5 separate regions of the Homo sapiens genome follow, and regions 1, 2, 3 and 4 are each linked to region 5. The links are contacts of gene promoters, found by promoter capture Hi-C in blood cells and fetal thymus (Javierre and others, 2016). All regions are on one chromosome and are shown on one strand. Each heading gives the region's core, a stretch centred on a gene start or on the middle of the fragment in contact. The rest is flanking DNA. Distances are from core to core; before and after follow the strand shown. Region 1 has its middle 23 kb from the start of ATP5MC2. Region 2 holds the start of SP1 (Sp1 transcription factor). Region 3 holds the start of MAP3K12 (mitogen-activated protein kinase kinase kinase 12). Region 4 holds the start of ATF7 (activating transcription factor 7). Region 5 holds the start of NFE2 (nuclear factor, erythroid 2).

Evidence for each region. Contacts are between HindIII fragments. The CHiCAGO score rates a contact against its expected background, and 5 or more counts as called.
Region 1: a contact is called between a fragment that was not itself captured here and the fragment with the promoter of NFE2 in region 5, in 3 of 17 cell types (naive B cells, non-activated CD4 T cells and M2 macrophages). The highest score is 10.7, in naive B cells.
Region 2: the fragment with the promoter of SP1 here is called in contact with the fragment with the promoter of NFE2 in region 5 in 2 of 17 cell types (erythroblasts and megakaryocytes); the score reaches 12.9 in erythroblasts.
Region 3: the fragment with the promoter of MAP3K12 here is called in contact with the fragment with the promoter of NFE2 in region 5 in 3 of 17 cell types (erythroblasts, megakaryocytes and activated CD4 T cells); the score reaches 13.8 in erythroblasts.
Region 4: a contact is called between the fragment with the promoter of ATF7 here and the fragment with the promoter of NFE2 in region 5, in 8 of 17 cell types (erythroblasts, neutrophils, naive CD8 T cells and 5 more). The highest score is 12.5, in erythroblasts.

The regions. Positions count from the first base shown.
Region 1 is chr12:53,697,282-53,699,981 of GRCh38, forward strand. No RefSeq gene overlaps it. Among named protein-coding and RNA genes, the nearest start is that of ATP5MC2, 23 kb to the left of the region's middle. The HindIII fragment of the contact is 7,437 bases long and covers 1-2,700 here.
Region 2 is chr12:53,378,900-53,381,599 of GRCh38, forward strand. It overlaps SP1 (Sp1 transcription factor), which reads left to right and starts at 1,277. Exons shown (of 6, transcript NM_138473.3): 1 at 1,277-1,399. The coding sequence starts at 1,393. RefSeq lists enhancers at 370-870, 774-1,073, 906-1,200, 2,051-2,700 and a silencer at 1,314-1,943. The HindIII fragment of the contact is 463 bases long and covers 957-1,419 here.
Region 3 is chr12:53,498,023-53,500,722 of GRCh38, forward strand. MAP3K12 (mitogen-activated protein kinase kinase kinase 12) reads right to left here and starts at 1,436. Exons shown (of 14, transcript NM_001193511.2): 1 at 1,405-1,436. RefSeq lists a silencer at 1,553-1,802. The HindIII fragment of the contact is 6,087 bases long and covers 1-2,700 here.
Region 4 is chr12:53,624,998-53,627,697 of GRCh38, forward strand. It overlaps ATF7 (activating transcription factor 7), which reads right to left and starts at 1,385. Exons shown (of 12, transcript NM_006856.3): 1 at 1,282-1,385. It overlaps ATF7-NPFF (ATF7-NPFF readthrough), which reads right to left and starts at 1,385. Exons shown (of 15, transcript NR_159377.1): 1 at 1,282-1,385. RefSeq lists an enhancer at 1,242-1,311. The HindIII fragment of the contact is 3,816 bases long and covers 1-2,163 here.
Region 5 is chr12:54,299,618-54,302,317 of GRCh38, forward strand. It overlaps NFE2 (nuclear factor, erythroid 2), which reads right to left and starts at 1,398. Exons shown (of 3, transcript NM_001136023.3): 1 at 1,184-1,398. RefSeq lists a cis regulatory region at 1,170-2,144 and an enhancer at 1,545-2,285. The HindIII fragment of the contact is 10,882 bases long and covers 1-2,700 here.

The sequences.
Region 1 (2,700 bases), core at 19-2,518, 600 kb before region 5:
TTACTGCCCGTCCCTTTGCTCTCGCGCTGCTACAACGAGGAGAGACTGCAGCCTGAGTCGGGGCTGGGGATGGGGGGAGATGGGGGCCAGAGATCCGCGCCCCCCACGCCGCTGTGCCCTTCACGCCAAATCCTCACCCTCCCTGAGACGCAGATCGGGGGTGAGAGGCTGGAAACAGACGTAGGGCCTCAGCTTCCTTCTGCGGCTCCTCCTGCCCTTGAAGTGTGGGAGCAGGGGGTCCTGCCCAAATGGTGCTTGGAGATCTGAGCACAGTGGGGTGGTGGGGGGTTACACCCCTTCCTTTCTCTGGCTCTTCACTTGCTGACCTACACTGAGAGCTCTTCAGGGTTATCCACATAGGAGTAAATTCAAGAATTCCTGGCTGAGTGCCTTGGGCTGGAGACATCAGTGTAGGAGAGGGCAAGAGGGAGGAGACCCCAAATCCTTGGGTTTGGAAAACTGGGTTGGCAGGAAGTTGGGAGCCCGGACATTTGGTTTCTGTCTCTGCGATCCCCTAAAGGGCCCTTTGACCTTGCTCCGGGATAAGTTCAAGCCTCCAGTCTCCACCCTGATTCCCCAGCTCCTGCTCCCTCCTAATTCCCTAAATCCTGGACTCTTTCTACACAGTCATTTACAACCAGACCCTCCAGTACTCCAAGGAGCTAATTTACACCCTCCATGCAAATAATGGAGATCAAAATAGTTACTGCCAAGGAATGAGCTTAGAGACAGTTGGCTATGTGTAAAACACTGCCTCCAGATGCCCGAGGATGGTTGGAGTCCCCTGTCCTCATCTCTGTTGTCTTCTTCTTGTTCTTCTTCTTGTTCTTCTTGTTCTTCTTGTTCTTGTTCTTGTTCTTGTTCTTCTTCCTTCTTCTTCTTCTTCTTCTTCTTCTTCTTCTTCTTCTTCTTCTTCTTCTTCTTCTTCTTCTTCTTCTTCTCCTTCTTCTTCTTCCTCCTCCTCCTCCTCATCTTCTTCTTCTTCTCCTTCTTCTTCTTCCTCTTCTCCTCCTCCTCCTTCTTTTTTTTTGAGATGGAGTCTCGCTCTGTCGCCCAGTCTGGAGTGCAGTGGCGCAATCTCGGCTCACTGCAACCTCCGTCTCCCAGGTTCAAGCGATTCTCCTGCCTCAGCCCCTGGAGTAGCTGGGATTACAGATGCATGCCGCCATGCCCGACTAATGTGTGTGTGTGTGTGTGTGTGTGTGTGTGTGTGTGTGTATTTTTAGTAGAGATGGGGTTTCACCATGTGTGTATTTTTAGTAGAGACGGAGTTTCACCATGTTGACCAGGCTGGTCTGGAACTCCCGACCTCAAGTGATCCACCCACCTTGACCTCCCACAGTGCTGGGATTACAGGCATGAGCCACCGCACCTGGCCTCATCTCTGTCTTCTGATAAGACACTAACATATAGAAACATTCATTCCAGGTTGGGCACAGCCTGCCTGCATATCTTATTGCCCCCTATTTGAGTGGGGGTTGGTTGGCATATAGGCTAGGTTAAAGGGTGATGGGGAAGAGGAGGCAGAAGTAAAGGTGGTGAAGTGGAAGTGGTAGCTAGGAAGACATTAAGAGTGATAATAAAAATTAGTGGACCCCCTTCCTGTTGGTCTACTGCTTTCCCATTTTATTTTATTTTATTTTATTTTATTTTATTTTATTTTATTTTATTTTATTTTATTTTATTTTATTTTATTTGAGATAGAGTCTCACTCTGTTGCCCAGGCTGGATCAGGGCTCACTGCAGCCTTGACCTCCTGGGCTTAAGCAATCCTCCTGCCTCAGTCCCTGGAGCAGCTGCATCCACAGGTGCATGCCACCACACCCGACTAATTGTGCTTTCCCATTGATGCCTCACAACAACCTGAGAGGTAGGTTTCATGTCCTCCATTTCACAGAAGAAGAAACCAAAGCTCAGGTTGGGAGATACCCAAGGACAATTAGGTGGTAAACAGAAGAATCAAGATCTGAACCTGGACTGTCTTCATCACCTGAAGCTGCCTGAGAAGGAGTTCAGGGTCTCTAAAGTAGAAGCCAGGATGACTAATAGCTCCATATAATTCATCTGGGTTCATAAGAAAGTGAGGAAGTCTGTCTGGTAAGAGCTTAAGAATTTTGAGAGAAATTTTACTAGAAATATTTATCTCGTGGTGATTGGGTCTAGGTAGTCGGGTAGTTACTATCATTGCTGGGATCTACCTCTCCCTAATCATTTAGTGAACATTTATTAAGCATCTACTATGTGTCTTCTTTTGATTGACCCCACCCTCCCCTTTCTCCACTTCCCCTACTGAGATGGGTACCTAATAGAGTTCTCAGGTCCTGGGCAGGGGTAGAGGCCCAGGAGAAAAGGAAGGTGTGGAGGTGAGAGCCCCCCATAGCCTGCACAGTGCCCAGAGGCGGCTGCAGCGGTGGCTCCAGATTTATAGCTGCCCCGGTACTGATGCAATAAAAGGAAACGATCCTTTTCTGTACTAATTTCTGTGTAATTAGATCTCTCCTGGCATGGAAAGTGGGGAGTGGGGGTGGCCAGGAGGGGAGGGTGCCAAGGACTCTTCACAGAGTCCTCCTTGGGAGGAGGGACTGCTGGACACACATGGCTTCACGTGGGGCTGGTTGGACAAATGGATCTGCACACACTGTGATGCACACAGGAAAGCAAGGAGGTGGAGGAGTCTTGATATGTCAACACACTTGTGTG
Region 2 (2,700 bases), core at 27-2,526, 920 kb before region 5:
ACACGGATAAAGAGGAGGCCAGAAATCCAGGTGCCTGCAGTAAAGTTTCTTAACCTTCGTGATTGCAAAAAGCTGGAGCTCAGCTATCTTGCTTTATGCATAGGCGGTATTTACTATTAAGGGGGAAAAAATGGAAGTGACTTATCCGCACTTTAGCCTCAAGGCTTGAAAAGTTAACCAGTCGTTTAAGTGGTTAGCGCCTTTGTCTGGGGGAACTTAATAAAATCGCGTTTTCTGGAGTCTCACGGAGACTCTGCATATTGGTCAGCTCAGTATTAACTTATTCGGTGAGTGCTGTCACCAGATCTCGTCCCGCCTGCATTCCCAGGGCTTGCAGCGACATTGAGGCATCTGCCCGCCTGTCCGACCACCCGGGAGGGGGGTAAGATTTGAGAGGTACTTTATAGGGGCAGTTAAATGAAGACGCAAACAAGTCCTAGTGTTGATGCGGAACTGCGCGCCGAATGCCTTGGCTCTGACACCTGTTGAGCTGCAGGACTCCGCTAAAGCGTCCCACCTAATGACTGTAACAACGTCCCCTGAGGAGGGCCAATATGGCGACGGTCTCCTCTTGGCATAGCCCTCTTCCCTCCCTCATGATGGGCAGCTCCAGTAACGCCCATTGGCTAACTAGGAGGCGGTGCCAGGCCTACTTCGTCCCCTCATTGGATTGAATAACTGAGGGAGCCGCCAATTCTCCTCTGCCACTCCAAGTTTCCGCCCTCAGTTAATTCGGCGTTTAATTGGCTTTTAGTTCACGTCAATATGCGTCCTTTCCTGTCTCTTTTCAGTCTAACTCCAATCATAACGTTCCTGGCTGCCCGCCTGATTTCTGATTGGTTTTAATCAGCTTCATCCTCTCCTATTCCTGCCTACTTCTTACCTCTCCGCCCACTAGGATTTTGCCCAAGCATATCCCGGATTCTGGTTGGCCGTTGTTCTGTCATTCCTATCAAAGCTTTGCCTATCCCTACGTCTCAGGGAGCCCGCCTGCCGGTTGACTGGTTTCCTTCCAAGCCAATCATCTCCAGCTCCCGCCCATCTTCACTTCCTGCATCCTTCATTGGCTTTTAACACTGAGAGGGCGGTCTTTTTAGGCGGACACCAGGCACGCAACTTAGTCTCACACGCCTTGGAGAGCAAGCGAGTCTTGCCATTGGATAATTCCACCGTCTTTCTTCTGCAAGTCCCTCCTTTCCCCCTCCCTCATTGGGCGGGGCAGCAGAGAAGGGGCGGGGCCTAGGTTGGGCTTGTGGCGCGCTGCTCCCTCCTCCTTACCCCCCCCTCCCTGTCCGGTCCGGGTTCGCTTGCCTCGTCAGCGTCCGCGTTTTTCCCGGCCCCCCCCAACCCCCCCGGACAGGACCCCCTTGAGCTTGTCCCTCAGCTGCCACCATGAGCGGTAAGGATGAGTCCACTCCAAGCTTAGGGGTGGGAGGCGAGTGAGGGGGCGCGCGCGAGGGCCGACCGGGCGATCCCCGCCGTGAAGCGGGGGCGGGCGGGAGGCGGCGGCGGCGGCGGCCTAGGTCCCGCCCGGGGCGGAGGGAAGGGAGGGAGACGGGGCAGTGGCGGGGCCTCCGAGGAGGAGGGGGATGGGCCGCCCGCCCCGGGGGAGGGGGCAGCGTGGCCTCGCCCGCCCCCTGCCCGCCCCGGCCACGGGGGACGGGCCTTACCCCCCACTACTCGGCCGCCCGCCTGAGGCTCCTCCCGCCGGGGGCTGGAGCCGCGGGGGCGGCCCGAGCAGCGAAGGCCCCGCCCGGGCCAACCGCCTGCCTGGTCCGCCCTCTGGTCGCCGCCTGCTCCAAGGCCCTCCTCCCCCCACTTTCCGTAGATTTCCCTTCCCCCCCGCCCCCCACCGTCCCGCCCTTTCCACGCCCCTCACCCCGAAACCGCCCTTTCCCTCAGGGCCCGCCCTCCGCCCCGAAACCTTCTGACTACTAACCTGTAGATCCCTTTAGTTCCTTAGCAGTATTCACAAATGTTTTTCTACTCACACTTTTTACTTCTTTTTCCCCTCTCGTTACTTTTCACACTTGGATTTTTGTTTGTCTTTTTTTTTTTTTTTTTTTTTGAGACGGAGTTTTCGCTCTTGTTACCCAGACTGGAATGCAATGGTGCGATCTCGGCTCACTGCAACCTCTGCCTCCCGGATTCAGGCGATTCTCCTGCCTCAGCCTCCGGGAGTAGCTGGAATTACAGGCATGCGCCACCACACCCGGCTAATTTTGTATTTTTAGTAGAGACAGGGTTTCTCCATGTTGGTCAGGCTGGTCTCAAAACTCCCGACCCCAGGTGATCTGCCTGCCTCCGCCTCCCAAAGTAATGGGATTACAGGCGTGACCACCGCGCCTGGCCTCTCCATCTCTTTTAAACTTAATTTTAGCAAGCTTTCCATGCACCCACATGTTGTTTTATGCCTTACCTGTCCTTTTCCTTTTTTTCCCTTAGGATACTTTTTCTTATTTAGAAACTCTCACCATGCCTACCGTCCTTCACATTTCCTATCCCCAAAGCACTTTTTGAATGTTTTCTTAGTTTAATTTTGTACAAGGGAGAATTAAGGCCCACTTTTGGCACATTGAACCTAGTTCATGTCCTGCATGCCCTGCAGCTCCCCTCTGCCCTCCAATCCATTTTCTTTATACTGGTGGCTTTCGCCTTCCTGTTAGTCATTGCTATTTCATCATAGCCTCCTTTTATCCT
Region 3 (2,700 bases), core at 186-2,685, 800 kb before region 5:
GCCTCCTCTGTCCATAACTGGGATGGATATTTAGCTGGTGTCTCCATGTTGAGAGCTGGGGTTTTCCTAACATTACCCCAGTTGACAATGGGAGTGAGTGGATGAATGATACGCTTGAGGGGACACACTTTTTTTCACCTGTAAGTGTGAGATAGGAGGGAGTGGGGCCCTAAAGCTCAGAGAAACTTCAGTGTCTGGACAGGAAGGCTCAGGGGGCACTTGAGTCCTATCCTTCCTAAATCCTTTCTGTTAGCCTTAGCTTGGTAGGACCCTCTGGCTGAAACTCAGAGCTCCTAGAGCAATGGAGTCCACCTTGAGAACTGCAAGGGAAATGTGTTTAGAGGGATGCACTGACTGTGGCTTGAGACGACTCTGGGTGGGGTGAGGAGACCTCATGTGCACTCCCTTCTGATTGGAGGCCACTCACCTACGCTCCTCTGAAAAAGGCAGCAGATGAGCATCTACAAGGTAGGACTCCTCCCTTAATTCTAAGGGACACCTCACTGTTTCCTCCCACTGTCTACAGAGCCTTGACTCTTCCCTCCTCTCAGTCAAGGCCTTGGTTACCAGCAAGTCTCAACTCTTGTTTATTTTTAAGCCAATGAGTTTGAGGAGTGTTTGTGGGAAAGGGAGGAGGTTTTTGGAGGGCCTGACTGGGGGAGATGGGTTAGGGGAGCCAGAGGAGATGGAGAGAAAGAGGAGGGAGAAACCCACACGTGAATGGGGGAGGGGAGGATGCAACAGCTGGATGGAGGTGAATGCCACAGCTGGAGGTGAATGCCACAGCTGGAGGGGATTAGGAGGATCACAGCTTGAAGGGGAGGGGGACCAACGCCTGGGCATGCAGGAACAGGTGCTCTCTGACTAATCTTCAGGTCCAGCCTGCTGTGTGTGTGTGTGTGTGTGTGTGTGTGTGTGTGTGTGTGTGTGTGTGTGTGTGTGTGTGTGTGTGTGTGTGTGTGTGTGTGTGTGTGTGTGTGTGGAGATGGTGGGTATATCAGTCCTTGCCCTTCCTTTCCTTCCCTAGAGGGGGCCAAAACTCTCCCTCCTCCTTCCCTCTCTCTCTTCCTGAGGATGAGTGGGAGGAGATGTTCTCTTGCCCTCTGTCCTTTAAGTCTGTCCCCCAATCATCCTCCACCCCACCCCAATACGGTCCTTTCCAGCTCTGGAGGCCCTTCGTCTCCAAGCTGGGCCGCGGCATCCCTCCGCTCCATTCCCTTCCTTCCCAGCCCCACAGGCGTCGGGTCCAGGTCCCCAGTTCCTCCATCCCCACAGCCTCAGCATCCCCACGCCATCACCCCGCACCAGGCCACATCTGCATCCCGACCCTCCCTCCACGCCCGGATCCCAGGACCCAGACCCATCCCTGCCCCCCACCCCCCCACAACTCGGCCAGGCTCTCACCTCGGGGGCTCCGCGGCCGCAGCACAAAAGGCGGCGCTGCTGCAGCTCCGCTCCGGATGCTGCTCCCGCCTCCTCCTCCTTCTCCTCCTCCTTCCCTCCTCCCCCCGCTGCCCTCCACCGGACCCGGGGCGCTGTCACAGGCGATGCTCGTGCGGTGTCCGGATGCACGGGTGTCAGCTTCAGCTTTCTGCCCCCACCCCCCGACCCCTAGCCCCGTCCCTGCTCGGCTTGAACTCCCGCTCCTTCCAGGGCCCCCGCCCCTGGCCCCCCGGGACGGACACGCCCTGAGCGGGGGATGCTGCGATGGAGCCGCCGGCCTCTTAAAGGAGCCCGCTGCTGCCATCCGGCGCGCTCCAGGCTCGTACCTGGCCCGCCTGGGCCCCGCGCCTCCCTGCTGGCGGTGTCCTATGGAGGTCCCACCTCAGGCCTCAGGCTGATTCCACAGGAACCCCCTATGACCCGTCTTATAGACTCCTTTCTACATCGGAGAGAGCAGCCCCTCAGTTGGGATCCCTAGCGCTCTGGCATTGCTCCCCCTATCATACCGATCTTGCCAGCTCTCCTTCCCTTGATTGTCACCACTCACTCCAATTTCACCCACTTGGAATTCACTCGGCTCTAGGCCCCATCCTCCTCCAGTGTTCCTGGATGACCCCTCATTATCATTTCAAGATTCCTCTGGACCTCCAACCCCGGCTCAGAGTAAGACATCTTTCTTGACCCCTTCTCAGAACACTCATTAGAACCTTTTTTTTTTTTAATGTGGTCTCTCCCTTTCTCTCTCCAAGGTCACAAGATTTCCCTCAGCCCAGTGGTTGTGCAACTTTGGGGGAGGAGGCAATGGGGCTCTAGGACTAAACAATGCGCGTCTGCTCAACACCCAGATCAGTTGATTAATCTTAGGCGGCCAAAATTCACTTTTGCTCTCTTCAGCTGAGAGACCCAAGACTCATGGAAGAGGGAACAAGACCACCAAGGTGCCTAGTCCTTCTAATCCTGTCGTCCCACATTACAGCCTGATTATCAGGCCCCAGAGGTTTCCTCGCCAGTTAAAGAGAGGTTCACTAGAGCGGTTCTAAAAAGGTTTCACAAAAGAAGCAACACCTGAAGGGAGGTGAAGGACGACCTAGGAAAAGGAAGCAAGTTCTGTGTCACGGAGGCCCAAGGGCAAGGGGCTTAGGCTGTGGGTTGAGGGGACTGTCTGAGACGGACTTAAACCTGCACCAGCTCCAGAGCCCTGCGGAAACAGAGATCGGTCCCCTCCGGCGTCTAGGTAAGGCCCACCCTCCCAGACCG
Region 4 (2,700 bases), core at 135-2,634, 670 kb before region 5:
AGCTTGCTGAGAAAACTCTGCACACCCCCTACACACCTGTACTTAATATGACATGACCCTCAGAGATACTAAAACACCCTCTGTTAAGCAGAAAACAAACTTTTAAAGTTAGGAAAGTAGCAACGCGGGAATCTGGGTAGGAGGTGCCCTGGGTTGTAAACACCCCAGTCAGAGAACATAACAAGCAATTCAGAGCAACATATTAAGTCCCTATGGGGCTCCAACTTGGACTGCTTAAGTCCCAAGACCACATCCTGGTGTCTGGGAAGAGTTTGGGTAATAGAAGAGAGGGAGAAGGAAAATCAGAGAAGCGATGAAAGCGTTCTATTTTTCTCCTTCTCAACCCCCATCCCAGCATCTTGGAGGCTGGTCACCAGTCTGGGTGCCATATCCACCAGAAGCCCTAAATCAATATCCCAACCACCTGATACCTAGGCTAAAGACATGTGTATATCAGCCATCTCCTTCCCAAACACCTCTTATCGCTCTCAAGGCTCATATCCTTCCAGAAGCCATGCCTTATGGCGACTCAGCTCACCCATACTGTCCTCTTAAATTAATTCACTTAATTTTCTCCAAATCCATACTTTCTCTCTGATATCATGTCCCTGATGTTCTTTTAATTAATTCAATCAAAATGCCATGACCCTCATTTCCAATAATCCACCCCATCTATCTTTTCTGCCAAACCCAACGGGGTGTTGTGTCACCAGATCAAGATCTTTGTTCTCATCTACTCATTCCTACCTCCTTCCTATTACCCTTTTCCAATTCCAAGCTCCTAATCCCACTCTTTGGGAAGCCCTGGGTTTCTAACTTAGTTTAGTATCCCTCCTCTTTCTCCCATTCCACCCCATCCCATGATCCTTCCATTAGGCTCCACTAGACTACCCTTCCCTCAGGATTCAATTCCCCTCTCCTTGCCACGCCCTGTGCCCCCCGGGGCTACTTACACCAAGTTCTCCCCACACTTCAAGCCTCTGGCCCCGCCTTCCCCCCAAAGGAAGGAGGCGGGAGTAGGGAGAGAAGGGCGGCGCTCGGCAACGTAAAAGCGATCTCCCATTAGCGCTCATCGCCGCCAATCGAGGCTTCCTTCTCTCCCATTGGTCGGCTTTGGCCTATGCCCCACCCTCTTCCTCAGACAGGGCCCGGCCACCGCCTCAGCGCCCCCGTCCAACACAGACTGGGAGGGGAGACCCCAGCCTGGAACGCTGGGACTGGCCAGAGTTGAAAGGGAGACTCCCGTCAGATCATGGACTAGCTAATGTTAAAAGGACTTACCGGCTGGTAGCTCCGTTGCCTCCCGCCTGCCCGCGCTCGGTCCTACAATCTGTCTCCAGCTCCTCCTTTCCCCCCTTGGCGGAACGGATACTTTCCTCCCGTCCGGCCAGGCGCGCTCAACTCTCGCGAGAAGTCATGGGTCCGCGGGGGAAGGGCGAGATCCGTGGGGGCTGAGTTGGAAAGCGGCCGAGAGGCGGGGGCTCCGGGAAAAGAAGGGGCCGGGCTTACTGTGGGCAGGGCTGGGGAGGGAGACTGAGCGAGTACTGTCCACACAGGTCACACGTGTTCGGCTGCAGAATCTAGCGGGAGAAAGAAAGGAAAAAGGAGAGAGGATCTTTACAGGTGCCTGTAGTGGTGGTTACTACTATCTTTCAGAGTCATCGCTTCCTTAACGGCAAAGTAATTTAAAATACCCTTAGCGCTAGAAATGAAGTCCATGTACGGACAAAGCAATCCACCCGCACAGCAATTCTAACACTACCATTTTACTAGCCCTATTGCCTTGGGTGAAAACCTTCTCTGAGTCTCTGTACAATGGGACTAACAATCTCATTTTATTCAAATAGTTGTAATGATCAAATGAGATACATGAAACTGCTTGGGGATTTTTTAAAATCACTATATTATTCAGCAAATATTTTCACAAAACGTAGGGCATACTACATGCAAAGCATTGTTCTGCAGTCGAATGCTCTATCCCTGAGCTATACCCCCCGTGCAAAGCATTGTTCTAAGCATGGGGTTAAGGAGTTACCAACCCAGGTAGAATTTATATTTGAGTGAGGAAGGGGAGACAGTTAAAAAGCCAATAAACACAAATATTTCAAATAGTGAAAAGCGCTTCAGGATAGTGAGACAGAAGGTGACTAGGAGTGGGGAAGAAGCTTTACTCCTAGTGTTTGAGAGAAGACCTCTTTGAGGAAGTAACACACCAGGAGTTGAATTATGACCTGGGAAGATTTCGGGGGAAATATCAAATGCAAAGTCTATAGTCTTACATTTATATGTCTTGTTCAAGACAAACCAGGAAAAGAAAAAAGAAAAACAAAAAACAGGCTGGGTGCAGTGGCTCACGTCTGTAATCCCAACACTGCTAGGCCGAGGCAAGAGGATCGCCTGAGCCCAGGAATTTGAGACCAGCCTGGGCAACATGGCGAAAACTCAGCTCTACGAAAAAATATAAAATTAGCCGGGCATGGTGGCCTGCACCTGTAGTAGCTATTCGGGGGGCTAAGTGGGAAGATCGCTTGAGCCCAGGAGGTTGAGGTGGCAGTGAGCCCACATCAGGCCACTGCACTCCAGCCTGGACAACAGAGTGAAACCCTGTCTCGATAAATAAATAAAATAAATAATTTTCTTAAAATTTAACGAATTGTAGTTGACTTAAAATATTATCTATGGAATCTCTGTTCTCTCCTT
Region 5 (2,700 bases), core at 148-2,647:
CTCACAGAATGATACGGAGCTTCATGATTAGGAATACAGAGTGAGGACTATTCGGAGAGGGATGATGGAGAGAGGAATACATTTGGCCTTAGCTGCTGCCCCAGGGCTCTTAACTTCCTTAACGAGGGGGAACGATGAGAGGGGGCTTGCCTCAGGATCCCTTTTCTGAGGCTTATTTGACCACCTCACCTCTCCAGGTGTCAATAGGTGCAGTGAAAGGATGAGGAGGGATTAGTAAAACTTGGGGTATTGGTTAACCGGTAAGCAACCTATTTAGAAAGATTAGGGAGAACTCCCGAAGAGAGAGAGACACACAGAGATGAGACAGAATGAAGGGGAAAAAAAGGAGGGAGAGAGATTTAAGCATAGTGAGCTCAGTGCCCTAGGGACATGCATGACTCAAACAAATGTGTGAGAACAAAGAAGAGGGGGACGAGTTTCTGCTATTGTGTCACTTCATCCCTGGACCCCAAACTCCAGTCCTTTGGTACCGATGTCTAGGGGATCCCAGCCCCAGCAGTTCTGATACCTCCTCTCTTCTCTTCCACTGCTTCCCAAGCCCCTATTTCCCAAGCAGCCAAGAGTTCCAGTTAGAAGCAACTATGCTGGGGTTGGGATGTCTTCCTTCTCCCTCCAGGTCCAGCTGATCTCTACTGCCCCTGGGCACAGAGAAGAGAAAGGGCAAAGGAGCCAACAACCCAGAGGCAATCTCCCATCCAACCCCCGCACCTTGCAACACTTCTCAGAGGTTCAGATATCCAGTGTTTCCAATTCCTCAGCTTTCCCTAAACCTTCTCAGCTGCCTAGACAGGGCAGAGTAATGGAATGGAGTTGGGGAAAGGGTAGTCTATTGGTTCCCTCAGGGTAGCCCACCAGTTGAAGGATTCCTCCTGGCTACTCCCCAGCCCCTCAGCGGTGCCTTGCCTCTGGAGACCCCTCTCTGATCCCCATTCACAGCCTCCACCCCAAGGATCCCAGAGCACCCAAGAAACCACTTAGGTCTTCTCCTAGAGGAGTTCCCAAATATGTCAGATTCCTAAACCAGGGGCAATCTAGAAAGTCTGAGGTCTCCTAGGATACCGAAAGTTGGTTATTTTCCCCCCTCACCTCCTTCACCCCCCAGCCTGCCCCTCGGATCTCACTGGAATCCGCCCCCCCCACACACACCCTGCCTTTCAGGCACCTGTGGTGGAGTCACAGCAGGGTGAGGAGAGAGATGAGGCTCCCGGTGTTGTCTCTGGGGAGGCTGAGCCTGAGCTGACACTGCTGGACGAGGATCCCGGCTACCTTTGAGAATCTGCGAGGACCGCGCCCCGCCCCCGGGCCATTGCTGAGCGCTGAGTGTGGAAGCTCAGGCTGAGCTGAGCACAGGAGCCCCAAGCAGGCGCACCAGCGTCTGAAGCCCTCGGCCTGAGTTCTCAGTCCTTCCTCCAACCCTCCCCTTTCCCCGTGGCTCTCCTCTCCTCCTGCCCCTTTCGGCCAAGAGAGGAAACTTGAGCCCGATGTGGTTTCTGCCCACACCCCGCCCCCACCTTGCTCCTGGCCAGCGGGGGCACACATGGCTCCAAGCCTCTCCCAGCCCTCCTTTTCAGCCCAGGAGTCCAGCCAGGTCTGCGTTTCTCCCATGCATTTGACGAATTCCAACCTGATGGTCCACTCGAATGTGACCTTTAAACTTTATACAGGTTGTCGTCGCCTTGTGTCCCCACGGCTCTCCTAGGGACAGGGAAACTGAGTCATATCAAGGTGGAAGGCAGCTGAAGGTAAGGACCAGGTGTCTAGCTTCCCAGCTGTCTAGGCAGTTGGACGTTTAGGGTATAGCCTTCATTTACAGAAAACCTGGGCTCTGGGAACAAGGGCAGGGGAACTATTTGGAGGAGGAGGGGCAACTGACTGCTTTGATGTGTCCTTTCACCTGTAGCCTTCTCCCCTCCCCCCTCAGCCTCAGAAGTCCCAGGACAAAGGATTCTTTCTTGGCCAGGTTTTTGTCAGTGTGTGAAGGGAGTTAGGTGGGGGGCCACCCAGCAGGGAGATTATTCACCTCCCGTAAAGGGGACCCCAGGTGTCCTTTGTCCTCCTTTCTCCCAGGCAAAGCACCCCAGCCACATGGCACCCAACTCTGTTAGGCCAGTAAGTACCCTTATTCATCTTTTTTTTTTTTTTTTTCCAGAGAGGGGCTCACTCTGTCTCCCAGGCTGGAGTGCAGTGGTGTGAACATGTTTCACTACAGTCTCAAACTCCCAGGCTTAAGCAATCCTCCCACCTCAGCCTCCCAAGTAGCTGGTTCTATGGGTCAGTGCAACCATGCCCAGCTAATTTTTTTTTTTTTTTTTTTTTTTGGTAGAAGTGGTGTCTCACTATATTGCCTTGGCTGGTATTGAATTCTTGGGCTCAAGCAATCCTCCCCTCTTGGCCTCCCAAAGTGCTGGGATTACAGGCATGAGCCACCTCACCCAGCCCACTTATTCATCTTTTTGCCTGCAAGCTACACCACCAAAGCCCCAGGTCAAACATCTTTCTCCACAGACTGTGAGAAAAGAGCCTTTCTTCCTCCTAATTTGTAATGGCTTTCAGCTCTATATGTCTAGCTTCAATCCTGACATCTGCAGCTTACATTTTTTCTTCTTACAATGTTCAAGTTAAATTAGAAACATCTGAAGACTGGGGAAGCAGATAGGTGCCACTCTGGAGTAGGACTGG